Regions from separate parts of the Homo sapiens genome. Here region 2 is linked to region 1. The links are contacts of gene promoters, found by promoter capture Hi-C in human tissues and cell types (Jung and others, 2019). All regions are on one chromosome and are shown on one strand. Each heading gives the region's core, a stretch centred on a gene start or on the middle of the fragment in contact. The rest is flanking DNA. Distances are from core to core; before and after follow the strand shown. Region 1 holds the start of OAZ1 (ornithine decarboxylase antizyme 1). Region 2 has its middle 5.4 kb from the start of CSNK1G2.

Region 1 (6,036 bases), core at 1,172-3,671:
AACAAAAAAAAAAGCAATCCACACCCTGAGTGGGGAAGGAGAGAGGAGAAGCATCCCAGGAGCTGGGGCCCTCCTGGTTCATACCATTTGCCCAGGATGCCCCACCCCAGAGAACAATCCAAGCCCAATGTCCACGGGTCCGAGGGAGGAGACCCTGAGTTAATTATTTGAAACAGAGTCTGTTCTCTGCTCACACCAGACACCAGAATAAACTCCTTTTTTTTGAGATGGAGTCTCGCTCTGTAGCCCAGGCTGGAGTGTAGTGGTGCAATCTTGGCTCACTGCAACCTCCACCTCCCGGGTGCCAGTTCAAGCAATTCTCCTGCCTCAGCCCCCTGAGTAGCTGGGATTACAGGCACGCGCCACCATGCCCAGCTAATTTTTGTATTTTTAGTAGAGACGGGGTTTCACCATGTTGGCCAGACTGGTCTTGCACTCCTGACCTCGTGATCCACCCGCCTCGGCCTCCCAAAGTGCTGGGATTACAGGCGTGAGCCACCGTGCCCAGCCTCAGGATAAACTCCTAATGGGGCAAACGGTATAAACCAGGAGGCCCCCAGCTCCTGGGATGCTTCTCCTCTCTCCTTCCCCACTCAGGGTGTGGATTGCTTTTTTTTTGTTTTTTTTGTGACAGAGTCTCGCTCTGTCACCAGGCTGGAGTGCAGCGGCGCCATCTCAGCTCACTGCAACCTCTGCCTCAAGGTGTGGATTTCAACGTGCGCAGTCTCCTGGGACCTCAGCAGGGCAGAGGATCATGGGATGCAGAGTCTCTTGGGGGGGTCCGTGGAATCCCCTAACTCGGGAGTCTCACCCAGGGTGATTCTGCCCCCGCCAAGGGACACTGGGTGATGTCTGCGGATACTTGTGGTTGTCACAACTGGGGGTGCTCAAGGCATGGAGTGGGTGGAGGCCAGGGACGCTGCTCAGCGCCCTGCAGTGCCCAGGGCGGCCCCAAATGTCAACCGCAGGAGTTAATTTCTGCCTCAACACCTGAATAGCGAATGCTCGTAGCAGAGATGCAACAACAGCCTTCTGGTGCAGTACGAAATCTCGAAAGACAGGCAGGCGCGGTGGCTCACGCCTGTTAATCCCCAAACTTTGGGAGGTCGAGGCAGGCGGATCACCTGAGGTCAGGAGTTCCAGACCAGCCTTGCCAACATGGTGAAACCCCATCTCTACTAAAAATACAAAAATTAGCCGGGCGTGGTGGCGGGCACCTGTAATCCCAGCTCCTCAGGAGGCTGAAGCAGGAGAATCGCTTGAACCTGGGAGGCGGAGGTTGCAGCGAGCCGAGATTGCGCCACTGCACTCCAGCCTGGGTGACAGCCAGGCCCGGTCGCAAACAAAACAAAATTAAAACCATGAAAGGAATCAGGATTTGCCAGGAGTAGCATTTTTGCTTGGTAAGAACAAAATTTTGTTTATACATGAAATAAAAAATATTTTATTAAACCTCACTGCAAAGTGGCAACTTTTTGCTAAATTCATAATTTAGTCTACACACAAGCTATGTACCCGTATGTGACTGCCAAGAGTTATATCTTTGCTTATTAAAAGCAAAGTGCAGTTCATACCTGAGATTTTTTTTCTGGATTTAACCAGGAGGGGAAATATTTTTGCTAGGTAAGTCCACATTTTACCTCACAGGCGAAACAGTTTACCGAACTTGACCACCAAAGAAATCGTTTTTTCCTTGGGAGATCCACATTTTAGTTCATACATGAGATGTGTTTCTGAATTTTAACTGCCAGGAGTAGTGTTTTTCCTTAGGGTAAGTTTCAGTTTCCACAGGAAAAATCTGAATTTATCTGCAAGGAGTAAAATTTTTGCTTAAGTCCAAATTGTACACGAAATATTTTACTAAATTTGAATATCTTTAACATTGGAAGTTCTTTTTTTTTAAACACTGGAAGCATTTTAAGAACTGCAAGACCAAATTTAAAAAAATAAAACCAGTAATATCATCGATGATTACCAGGTGTTACTGGAAATAATTCTGGCGCGGTTGGACAACCCCCCAAGCACCCGGGGGCCTACCCAGGGGAGGGGTCCCGCTGCGTGAAGGGACCCTAGGGAGGGCGACGTGGACCACGACAGACAAACGGGCACTCGAAGACCCCCGAAAATCGGCCCCAGCGAGCCGCCCCCGCCCCCAAGGCACGATTGTGGGGGCGGGGACGGCTCGGGGCGCGCGCAGCGCGTACCCGGCGCCACGGCAGCCCCGCCCCCAGAAGGACGCGCGCAGGAGGGGGCGTGGCCCGAGGCTCACCAACCAATCTCCAGAGAGCCTCTTCCTTTCCCTTTCCCTTTCACCAATCAGGCGCTGGGAGGGGCGGGCGCGACTTTTTTTCCCGGCGGCCCCGCGGCTCTGCCCCTCGTGCGGTCGCGTTCCCGGCGGCGCGGGGGGCGTGGCCTGGGCGCAGCATCTATAAAGGCGGGCGGCGGCAGAGGCGCCATTTTGCGAACGGCGAGCAGCGGCGGCGGCGCGGAGAGACGCAGCGGAGGTTTTCCTGGTTTCGGACCCCAGCGGCCGGATGGTGAAATCCTCCCTGCAGCGGATCCTCAATAGCCACTGCTTCGCCAGAGAGAAGGAAGGGGATAAACCCAGCGCCACCATCCACGCCAGCCGCACCATGCCGCTCCTAAGCCTGCACAGCCGCGGCGGCAGCAGCAGTGAGAGGTAAGTGCCCCGCCCCCGTCCGAAGCTTCCAGAAGCGCCGGCCGCGCAGGCCTGCGGGGGGCCGTCCTCGGGGCGCCAGATAGGTCCCCGGCGCGCGAGATCCGCCCCTTTGTCAAGGCCAGAATCGCGCCGGGGACGAGGTAGGCGCAGGGCGGGCCTGGAGGTCCCCCCCGGCCTTAGCAGTGCTCTCGGGGGAGTCGGGTTTGGGGGGCAAGGGTGCGGAGTTGGATTTGGGGGGCACCGTCCGGGGCGCCTGATTTGCGGGAGGGGCATGGGTCGGAGGTCGGATTTGGGCGCAGGACGGGGAGTCGGGGGAGGCGTGTGTCTTTTGCGGGGTTCGCGGGATGGGACTCGGCTTCGGAGGAGGGGAGAGGCTTCTGGTCGAGGGTTGGATTTGCGGGGCGCAGACTGGGAATTCGGTTTGGAGGAAGGGTGTGCGGTCGGGTCGGATTTGGGAGGCGCAGGATGGGGCAATCTGGTTGGGGGCGGGGTCGGCCTTGGGGGGCTGGTCCGCGGACAGGCAGGGCCCGCGGGGCTGGTGAATCTGCACTTTTCGGTCCCGGCCGTCGAGCGTGCGCTGCGGGAGCGGGGAGCGCTTTGCGGTGGACGAGCTCCCGCGGGTCCCTGTTGCCTCGATGTGGCCCCTGCACGCGACGGACCTCGTGGGCCCCGTTTTTCGCCCCTGAGCGAGTCGGTCTGGATGGCCCGGGACGCGCCGGGCGAGGCCGCGCACGTAGACGGCACCCAGGGCTTCTCCGCGGGGGCCGCCGGGGAGCTGGGGGTGGCGCACTCCGACAGCCCGGCAGCGCCCTGGGAAGACCCCCGCCGCTTCCCGGGAAGACGCGTCCCGCTTCCGGGGGCGCGGGTGCCAGCTGCGGTTGTGGGGGAGCCCGCGGGGTCTCGGTCGAGCTTTCCCGACTGCGTCCCCCGAGGTGGGCGTCGCTCAGCCCCGGATCGGGAGGTTGGGCCGCGGTGCTGGCGGTGCCGCGGTTTGGGGGCCGTGCAAAATGGAGGCAACTTTGGGGCCTGTTTACCCTGCGCAGCAAATGGCTGCTGGCGCTGCCGGCTGCGCGATTGTGAAAATCTCCCCCGGGGCGCGAGGCCGCGTCTGCCTGGATGACGCAACCGGGAGGGCCCGGGCCTGGAGCGGGGGCGGGGGGGCGGGCGGCCGGGAGCCGGAGCGGGGCGCGTCCTCCATGAGGTCAGGCTAGGCCCGCCCGGTCTTCGCGGGGACAAGCAAGAGTCCCAGATTTTGGCCGTAGTGCAGGGTGGAAAGGGGAAGCCGCGACAGAACTGAAAAGGGGAAGCGCTGGCTGTCTTGGTGGCCGGGGGGTGAGGCTCTGCCCCGGCGGGGCTGCGTGAGGGGAAGGGGCCCCCCGCCCTGGGAAGGTTGGGCTGTCCTGGGCGGCGCCGCCCGAGGAGTCGGGGCTCAGTGACTGCTGCCCTTGTAGGTGCTTGGGGCAGGCGTTGGAGCTGCCTTCGGGAAGCCTCGGGGGTGTGGGACCGGGTGGGCCCCTGCCTGGGCGGGGCGGGGTCTTTTGGCCGAGGCAGGGGTGGGGATGTGCTGAAGGCCGCCCGGACGCCCTGGAGGGGTCTCCGCCCGGAGCCTGGCGCTGCCTCGTGACCTGCATCATCTTCAGTTCCAGGGTCTCCCTCCACTGCTGTAGTAACCCGGGTCCGGGGCCTCGGTGGTGCTCCTGATGCCCCTCACCCACCCCTGAAGATCCCAGGTGGGCGAGGGAATAGTCAGAGGGATCACAATCTTTCAGCTAACTTATTCTACTCCGTGAGTATGGGGCCGGGCCTGCTGGGGCTGCTCTGGGGCCACAGGTACTTTCTTGTGCACCTTGCTGCCCGTACCTGTGATTGAATGTAATCGTGGGAACCCTGAGTTTCATCAGAGCCGGCGCACAGTCTCCTGCAGCCCAGGCGTTGCCTGAGCTCAACACGGCCTAGGCCCAAGCTTTAGCGCTGCCGGGTTCTTGGAGTCCTGTGGGGTGAGTCAGGGTTCTGAATTGGGCTGCACCCCCTGGACAGGATGATCGGCTGAATGTAACAGAGGAACTAACGTCCAACGACAAGACGAGGATTCTCAACGTCCAGTCCAGGCTCACAGACGCCAAACGCATTAACTGGCGAACAGTGCTGAGTGGCGGCAGCCTCTACATCGAGATCCCGGGCGGCGCGCTGCCCGAGGGGAGCAAGGACAGGTGAGGGGCAAGGACAGGCAGGGAGTGCTCACCCAGGGGAGCAGGGACCAGGTGAGGGGCAAGGACAGGCGGGGAGTGCTCACCCAGGGGAGCAGGGACCAGGTGCGGGTTGCTGCCCAAGGGGTGCAGGGACAGATGAGGGAGGGCACTGCCTTCAGGCAGCACATATGGGGGCCACCATCGCTTTGTTGGTGGGGACAGGGTCCCCCCTTTTTTTTTTTTTTGAGATGGAGTCTTGCTTTTGTTGCCCAGGCTGGAGTGCAGTGGCATGATCTTGGCTCACTGCAACCTCTGCCTTCCGGGTTCAAGCGATTCTCCTGCCTCAGCCTCCCGAGTAGCTGGGCTTACAGGCGCCCGCCACCGATGCCCAGCTAATTTTTGTGTTTTTAGTAGAGACGAGGTTTCGCTATGTTGGCCAGGCTGGTCTTGAACTCCTGACCTCGTGATCCGCCCACCTCGGCCTCCCAAAGTGCTGGGATTACAGGCGTGAGCTACCGCTCCCGGCCTGGGGTCCCTTTTTAAAAAGTGCACTCCAAATTCGTACCCTGGGATTCTACCCTCCAAGGGATGCCAGGCAGTGTCAGAGCTTTTCTGTCATGGGGCATGCACGTGGGTGGGTGCAGCGGTGCTGCTCAACACTGTGGTGTCAGGACGGCCCCACCCAGAGGACGATCTGGGCCCCAGGGGGACCCTGGAGTAGAGCGGGCCTCAGGGTAGCTGCTAAGGCCCAGGAGGTAGGCAGGTGGGTCGGGCCAGCCGAGACGCTGACACTCGCTGCAGCTTTGCAGTTCTCCTGGAGTTCGCTGAGGAGCAGCTGCGAGCCGACCATGTCTTCATTTGCTTCCACAAGAACCGCGAGGACAGAGGTAGGTGACCCGTATCGCCTGCAGTAGGGTGCGTGGGGGTGCCTGCGCCGCCCCTTCATTCTCAGCCCGCAGGCACGGTCTCCCTGCGGGGGTGGGGGGTGCGGGCGGGGGGTTCTGGTCGGCAGGGGTTCTGACGGCTTCTCCCCCGCAGCCGCCTTGCTCCGAACCTTCAGCTTTTTGGGCTTTGAGATTGTGAGACCGGGGCATCCCCTTGTCCCCAAGAGACCCGACGCTTGCTTCATGGCCTACACGTTCGAGAGAGAGTCTTCGGGAGAGGAGG
Region 2 (6,036 bases), core at 924-3,423, 330 kb before region 1:
GTGGGAGAGGAATCATTATTTGATGACCTCATTCAGCCCTAGGGATTTGGGGTGGCTAAGGTAGAATGGCAGTGGATTATATCTGACATGATGCGGGGTGTCCGGGCTCAGCTGGGCAGTTCTGCTCCCTGTGGTGATGGGGGGTAATCAGCAATCATTTAGTGGCTTTCCCTGGCCGGGAATGTTTGAGGTAGCTCACTCACAGGGCTGGCAGGTGGTGCCTGCTCAGTGGTGCCATCACCCAGGGGCTTCCAGGTGGCTGCCTCACAAGATGGCAGCTGGGTTCCAAGCAGAAAGGACGCTGTTGAGTTCTTTTTTTTTTTTTTTTTTTTTTGAGACACAGTCTCACTCTGTCACCCAGGCTGGAGTGTAATGGCGCAGTCTCGGCTCACTGCAACCTCCACCTCCCAGGTTCAAGTGATTCTACTGCCTCAGCTTCCCGAGTAGCTGGGATTACAGGTGCCCACCACCACGCCCAGCTAATTTTGTATTTTTAGTAGAGACAGGGTTTCACCGTGCTGGCTAGGCTGGTCTCAAACTCCTGACCTCGGGTGATCTGCCCGCCTCGGCCTCCCCAAGTGCTGGGATGACAGGTGTAAGCACCATGCCCAGCCTACTGTCGAGCTCGTAAGACCCTCCCTCAGAAGTCTCAAGGCACCACTTCCCCTGCCTTCTGTTGCTAAAACAGGTCACAGGAGCAGCTACATTCAGGGGAGGGGAAATGAACTGTGTCTTTCCGTGGGAGGAGCAGCAAAGAATCTGTGACCATCACACCCAGCTTTTGAACCACTTCTTCTTTGTGTCTCAGTGTTTGTGGCATGCAGCATCCCTGTTGCCTGGGTCCAGGATGCCACCCTCCTACTGGGGTTGCAGCACCAAGGGGCTGGGCATTCCATCGAGCTGAGGGGTGGGGGCTCTGGATGGGAGGCTCCCTGGGGGGAGCTCACATCTTCCATGAAGCATCATGGTCATTGTTGCCCTGTCCTGCACCCTGTCCACTGCAGGCTGCCCTCTGTGGCTGGCCTTGGTGACAAGAGATGTGGGAGAGACCCTGGTCACCACCATGGGAGGAGTCCCCAGGCACCAGGGGCAAATGAACAGAGTGAATGCCAGGAGGACCATTTAGGTGCAATATGACCAAAAATAAGTTAAGTCCAAGTGGGCTGCATCATCAACAAGAACATCCCCCAGCCTCCATGAAACAGCCCAAAACCTGGAGCAAGACGGTTCCCTGACGCTGAGCGATGCCATTCACAGCAGCGTTCCTGAATACCCCCCATGCAGGCACTCACATGCTCACACACACAATACACAAACCAACACACACCACACACAGGCATGCCAAACACAGGCACACAAATGCACACCCCCCCATAGACCCACCGACGAACACACACACACACACCCAGATGCACAGGTGCGCACACACACCCACGCACACAAAGACCCAGAGACAGACATGTGCACACACATACATATGCACACATGTACGCAGATACATATGACACAAATGCATGAACACATGGACCACACATACCAACATGCCACCTCACACAGACACACCTAACACACACACACCCGTGCACACATGTACATGGACATACACACTGGAAAACAACAAACACATATACAAAATGCAGGCCGGTTGCGGTGGCTCATGCCTGTAATCCCAACACTTTGGGAGGCCGAGGCAGGGGGATCACTTGAGCCTGGGAAGTGAGGGCTGCAGTGAGCTATGATTGAATCTCTGCACTCCAGCCTGGGTGACAGAGGGAGACCCTGTCTCAGAAAAACAAAACACGAAACACAAAATATGACCGGGCGCAGTGGCTCGCGCTTGTAATCCCAGCACTTTGCAAGGCCGAGGTGGGTGGATCACAAGGTCAGGAGATCTAGACCATCCTGGCTAACACGGTGAAACCCCGTTTCTACTAAAAATACCAAAAATTAGCTGGGCGTGGTGGTGGGCGCCGGTAGTCCCAGGTACTCGGGAGGCTGAGGCAGGAAAATGGTGGGAACCCGGGAGGTGGAGCTTGCGCCACTGCACTCCAGCCTGGGCGACAGAGCGAGACTCCGTCTCAAAAAAAAAAAAAAACCCAAAATACAAATGCATGGACATGTATCCACACACACCAACATGTTACATCATAGACAGACACACAAAACACACAAACATACACCCATCCATGGACATACACACAGACACACACAAACATCAACACACAGCATCCCACACAGACACACAAACACACAGCCATGTACCCTCAAAGGACGCTGCAGGATGAGCCTTCATTCTCTGGGACAGCAGAGAAAGTAGACAAAGGAGAGAAACTTCTCTCAGAGTCACCCATCCTCTGACTGGATCCCGTGCCCCTGTGAAGAGGCAGATCCCAGTGCCCCACACTTGGCTCTGGGGCCACCCACTGCCGCCAGGCTCTGTCCCTGCGGTTGGTGGGGGTGAGGGCAGACCCTGCTCTGTGCTGCTTCCTCACCCACCAAAACTTCCTGACGTCGCCCTGTTCCGTTGGCTGCGCTGCATATGGGAATGCAGTGCTGGGCAGGCCCAGCCTCCCAGCTGGGAAGGGGTGTCGCCACTGGCTGCAAAGACAGGTCTTCTTTTCCCCCAAGTCTGTGTTTATGCCCTACTAGAGACTGTTGGGTGTAATTCCCAGAAAGTTCTGGAATGATCTAAAATGAGGAAATAGAAAAAAGTTGTAGAATCGGGCCAGGCGCAGTGGCTCATGCCTGTAAACCCAGCACTTTGGGAGGCTGAGGCAGGTGGATCACCTGAGGTCATGAGTTGGAGACCAACCTGGCCAACATGGCAACATGGGCAGACATCACCAATTAATCATCGAATGATGTTTCTCCTGACCTCCTTCCTCCTGTGTACAGGGTAGGCATCACCAATCAAGCAATGATGTTGGTTGACTGGGGAACGCTGCTGTTTGTCCTGCCTTCCTTCCTCTTGTGCACAGGGCAGACATCACCAATCAACCAATGATGCCCACACTGCTTCCCTCCCATGCACAAAGCAGACATCACCAATCAATCGAGCAGCACCAGGAGGAAACCAATTTGGCAGTTCAATCCGTCTTCAACTCTATCCTTTTATAGATAAGGTTGAGGCCCAGGGACCTGGTCAAGGGCAACTACAGGGCAGATCCCTCCTCCTCTTCCTGGGAATTAGCTTTGTCTCTTGTTCCTGGAGCAAATTCAGGAAAATTGCAAGGTCATGTACATTTTCAGCCCAGGGCATGAGTCACTTGATCCCTGCTGTCCAGAGCTGGACCCGGAGATGATGGCCAGGACTGTCCCCTTGCAGGGAGGCCACTGAGGCTGGCAGGGCCAAGACTGGGCAGTGAGCCACTCCAGGCGGGAAAGCCCTTTGTCACTGGAGCTGCTCTGAACGCTGCCGCCAAGTCGCAGGCAGCTGTTGTCATCTGCTCAGCGTCCTTCCCCTTCCCCGGCAACTACTCCTCCTGCTGTGGGGAACCTGGCCCACCCGACTCCTGTGTTCTCAGGGCGCTGCCCCTCGTGGAACCTGCCCTTCTGGTCACCAGGACATTGCCTAAACCAGGCCTGGCCAGTCATCTGGGAGGGGCCAATGCCAGACAATAAGAGACTTTCCTGGGATTTTATAGCGATCCTGGGAGAGAAGAGCTCTGTTTTATTTGGGGGTTGCTAAACTAAGCCACAGCTGCCACCACGGACGGAAGAAGCTTGGAGTGAAAGAATGAAGCCAAGGCACAGAGACGGAGAGACAAGGAGAGGGAGAGAGAGAGGGAAAGGTAGAGACAGAGAGAGATGTGGGGAGGGAGAGAGAGACAGAGAGATAGAGAGGTAGAGATAGAGACAGAGGGATATAGAGAGGGAGAGAGAGACGGAGACAGAGGATGAAAGAGACGAGACACAGTTGGAGATAGAGGGAGAGATGCAGAGACAGAGAGAGATAGAGAGGGAGAAATAGAGACAGACAGAGCTAGGAAGGGAGAGAGAGACAGAGAGAGGAAGAGAAAGGGAGAGACACAGAGACAGAGACAGAGAGCTTGAGAGACAGAGAGAGAGGCAGAGGAAGAAAGAGGCAGAAAGACAAATAGAGAGACAGAGACAGGGAGAGACAGAGACATAGACAGAAAGATGGCGAGCACTCCAGCCTGGGCAATAGAGCAAGGTTCCATCTCAAAAAAAAAGAGAGACATAGAGACAGAGACAGGAAAAGACAGAGAGATAGAGACAGAGAGAGAGAAAAAAGAGAGAGAGAGAGACATGAGGACAAAGAGAAAGGTCCACAGGCACTGAGCTTGAGTCACCCCTGGTTGCAGCCATGCCTGAAGGCAGCTCTGCCCGACCGCTGAGTTCCACAGCCCAGCATCTGTGATGGGCTGCACCTGTGTATTAGCACGTTACTGATAAGGCCCAGCTGCTTTAACAAATCGGCCCGCCTGGCGTAGCGGCTCCGGCACAGTGGACGTTTACTTCTTGCTCCAGGCCGGCGACCCAGGCAGCTCCACAGGTGACCTGAGGACTCACGGTCCCTCATCTGGGCTCCATGACCCCCCAGGGCCCCATGTGCTCCTCCTCCTGGGGTTGGAAGGGGAATGGAGGCCCAGGGTGGACAGCAGGAAGAAGACACGTGGCTGGAGGCACAAGCCCGCGGCGGCCTCAGCAACAGGACCCAGCTTTCCTTCCTGCGAGGCATGAGTCTGGCCCCTGCCCCCGGGCTCCTGACCCTCCAGCCAACCCGGCCTCAGAATGAGTGGCCCCGAGAGGGCCCCGGGCCACAGGGCTGTGGGGACACCTCCAGCTGTAACAGGCGGCAGGACCAGGAGGTGAGCAAGGGGGGAAAAGCTTCCAGAAGTTTTCCCAGACGCTGCGACCCTGAGGCTGGGCCTTCAAGGATGAATGGGGCGAGAGTGGGAGAAGGGCTTCCTGGGCAGAGGATGTGCGGCTGTTGGGACAGTGGCATCTCTAACAAAATACCGTAGGTGGGGCAGCTTAGACACAACAAATTTACTTCTCACAGCTTTGGAGAGCGTGGAGGTTCAAGACCAAGGTGTGGGCAGCTTTGGTATCTGCTGAGGGCCTGTTTTTGTTTTTTCGTTGTTTTTGAGGTTAGAGTGCAGTGGCATAATCTTGACTCACTGCAACCTCTGCCTCCCAGGTTCTAGTGATTCTTCTGCCTCGTCCTCCTGAGTAGACAGGATTACAGGCGCCCACCACCAAGACTGGCTAATGTTTGCATTTTTTGTAGAGACGGGGTTTCACCATGTTGACCAGGCTGGTCTTGAACTACCGACCTCAGGTGATCCACCAGCCTCGGCCTCCCAAAGTGCTGGGATTACAGGCGTGAGCCACCGCGCCTGGCCCTCACTCTGTATTTTTAGCCTCACTAAGGCTGATCTTGAACACCTGGTCTTACGCGATCCTCCCACCTCAGCCTCCCTAACTGCTGGGATTACAAGTGTGAACGTCTCTTTATGTGAGTATAGGAATAGAACAGAAGGGGGCACTTCCTGCCTGCCTCCTCCCCCAAACCTACGCTGTTTGGGATTTACTGGGAGGCTGGGAGATCTTCTCTCTAGAGGATGGGATGGGCGTGGACAAGTTGTTATCTTTATAATGTTCTTATTAGATTAAGACCTCCAAAGGGTGCTGGGCGCATTGGCTCAGGCCTGTAATCCCAGCACTTTCGGAGGCTGAGGTGGGTGCTATTGCTTGAGCTCAGGAGTTGGAGACCAGCCTGGGGAACATAGCAAAACCCTGTCTCTATAAAAAATTAGCCGGGCGTAGTCGGGCACGGTGGCTCACGCCTGTAGTCCCAGCACTTTGGGAGGCCGAGGCGGGGGGATCACAAGGTCAGGAGATCAAGACCATCCTGGCTAATACAGTGAAACCCCGTCTCCACTAACAATACAAAAAATGAGACGGGCGCAGTGGCGGGCGCCTGTAGTCCCAACTACTCGGGAGGCTGAGGCCAGGAGAATGGCGTGAACCCGGGAGATGGAGCTTGCAGTGAGCCGAGATAGTGCCACT

The links. The method cuts DNA at HindIII sites, captures the fragments that hold promoters and counts their contacts. A contact is called where the count stands out against the background at its distance.
Region 2: a contact is called between a fragment that was not itself captured here and the fragment with the promoter of OAZ1 in region 1, in 1 of the 25 tissues and cell types used here (stomach).

Annotation. Positions count from the first base shown.
Region 1 is chr19:2,267,065-2,273,100 of GRCh38, forward strand. It overlaps OAZ1 (ornithine decarboxylase antizyme 1), which reads left to right and starts at 2,422. Exons shown (of 5, transcript NM_004152.3): 1 at 2,422-2,680; 2 at 4,321-4,466; 3 at 4,718-4,890; 4 at 5,671-5,756; 5 at 5,908-6,036. The coding sequence starts at 2,535. LOC105372240 (a long non-coding RNA gene) reads right to left here and starts at 2,189. Exons shown (of 2, transcript XR_936242.3): 1 at 2,038-2,189; 2 at 1,429-1,808. RefSeq lists silencers at 1,989-2,478, 3,444-3,503, 3,714-3,913, 3,924-4,263, 5,803-5,952 and enhancers at 2,121-2,735, 5,473-5,532, 5,543-5,602. The HindIII fragment of the contact is 6,913 bases long and covers 1-3,674 here.
Region 2 is chr19:1,932,706-1,938,741 of GRCh38, forward strand. No RefSeq gene overlaps it. Among named protein-coding and RNA genes, the nearest start is that of CSNK1G2, 5.4 kb to the right of the region's middle. RefSeq lists a silencer at 5,683-5,883. The HindIII fragment of the contact is 4,225 bases long and covers 62-4,286 here.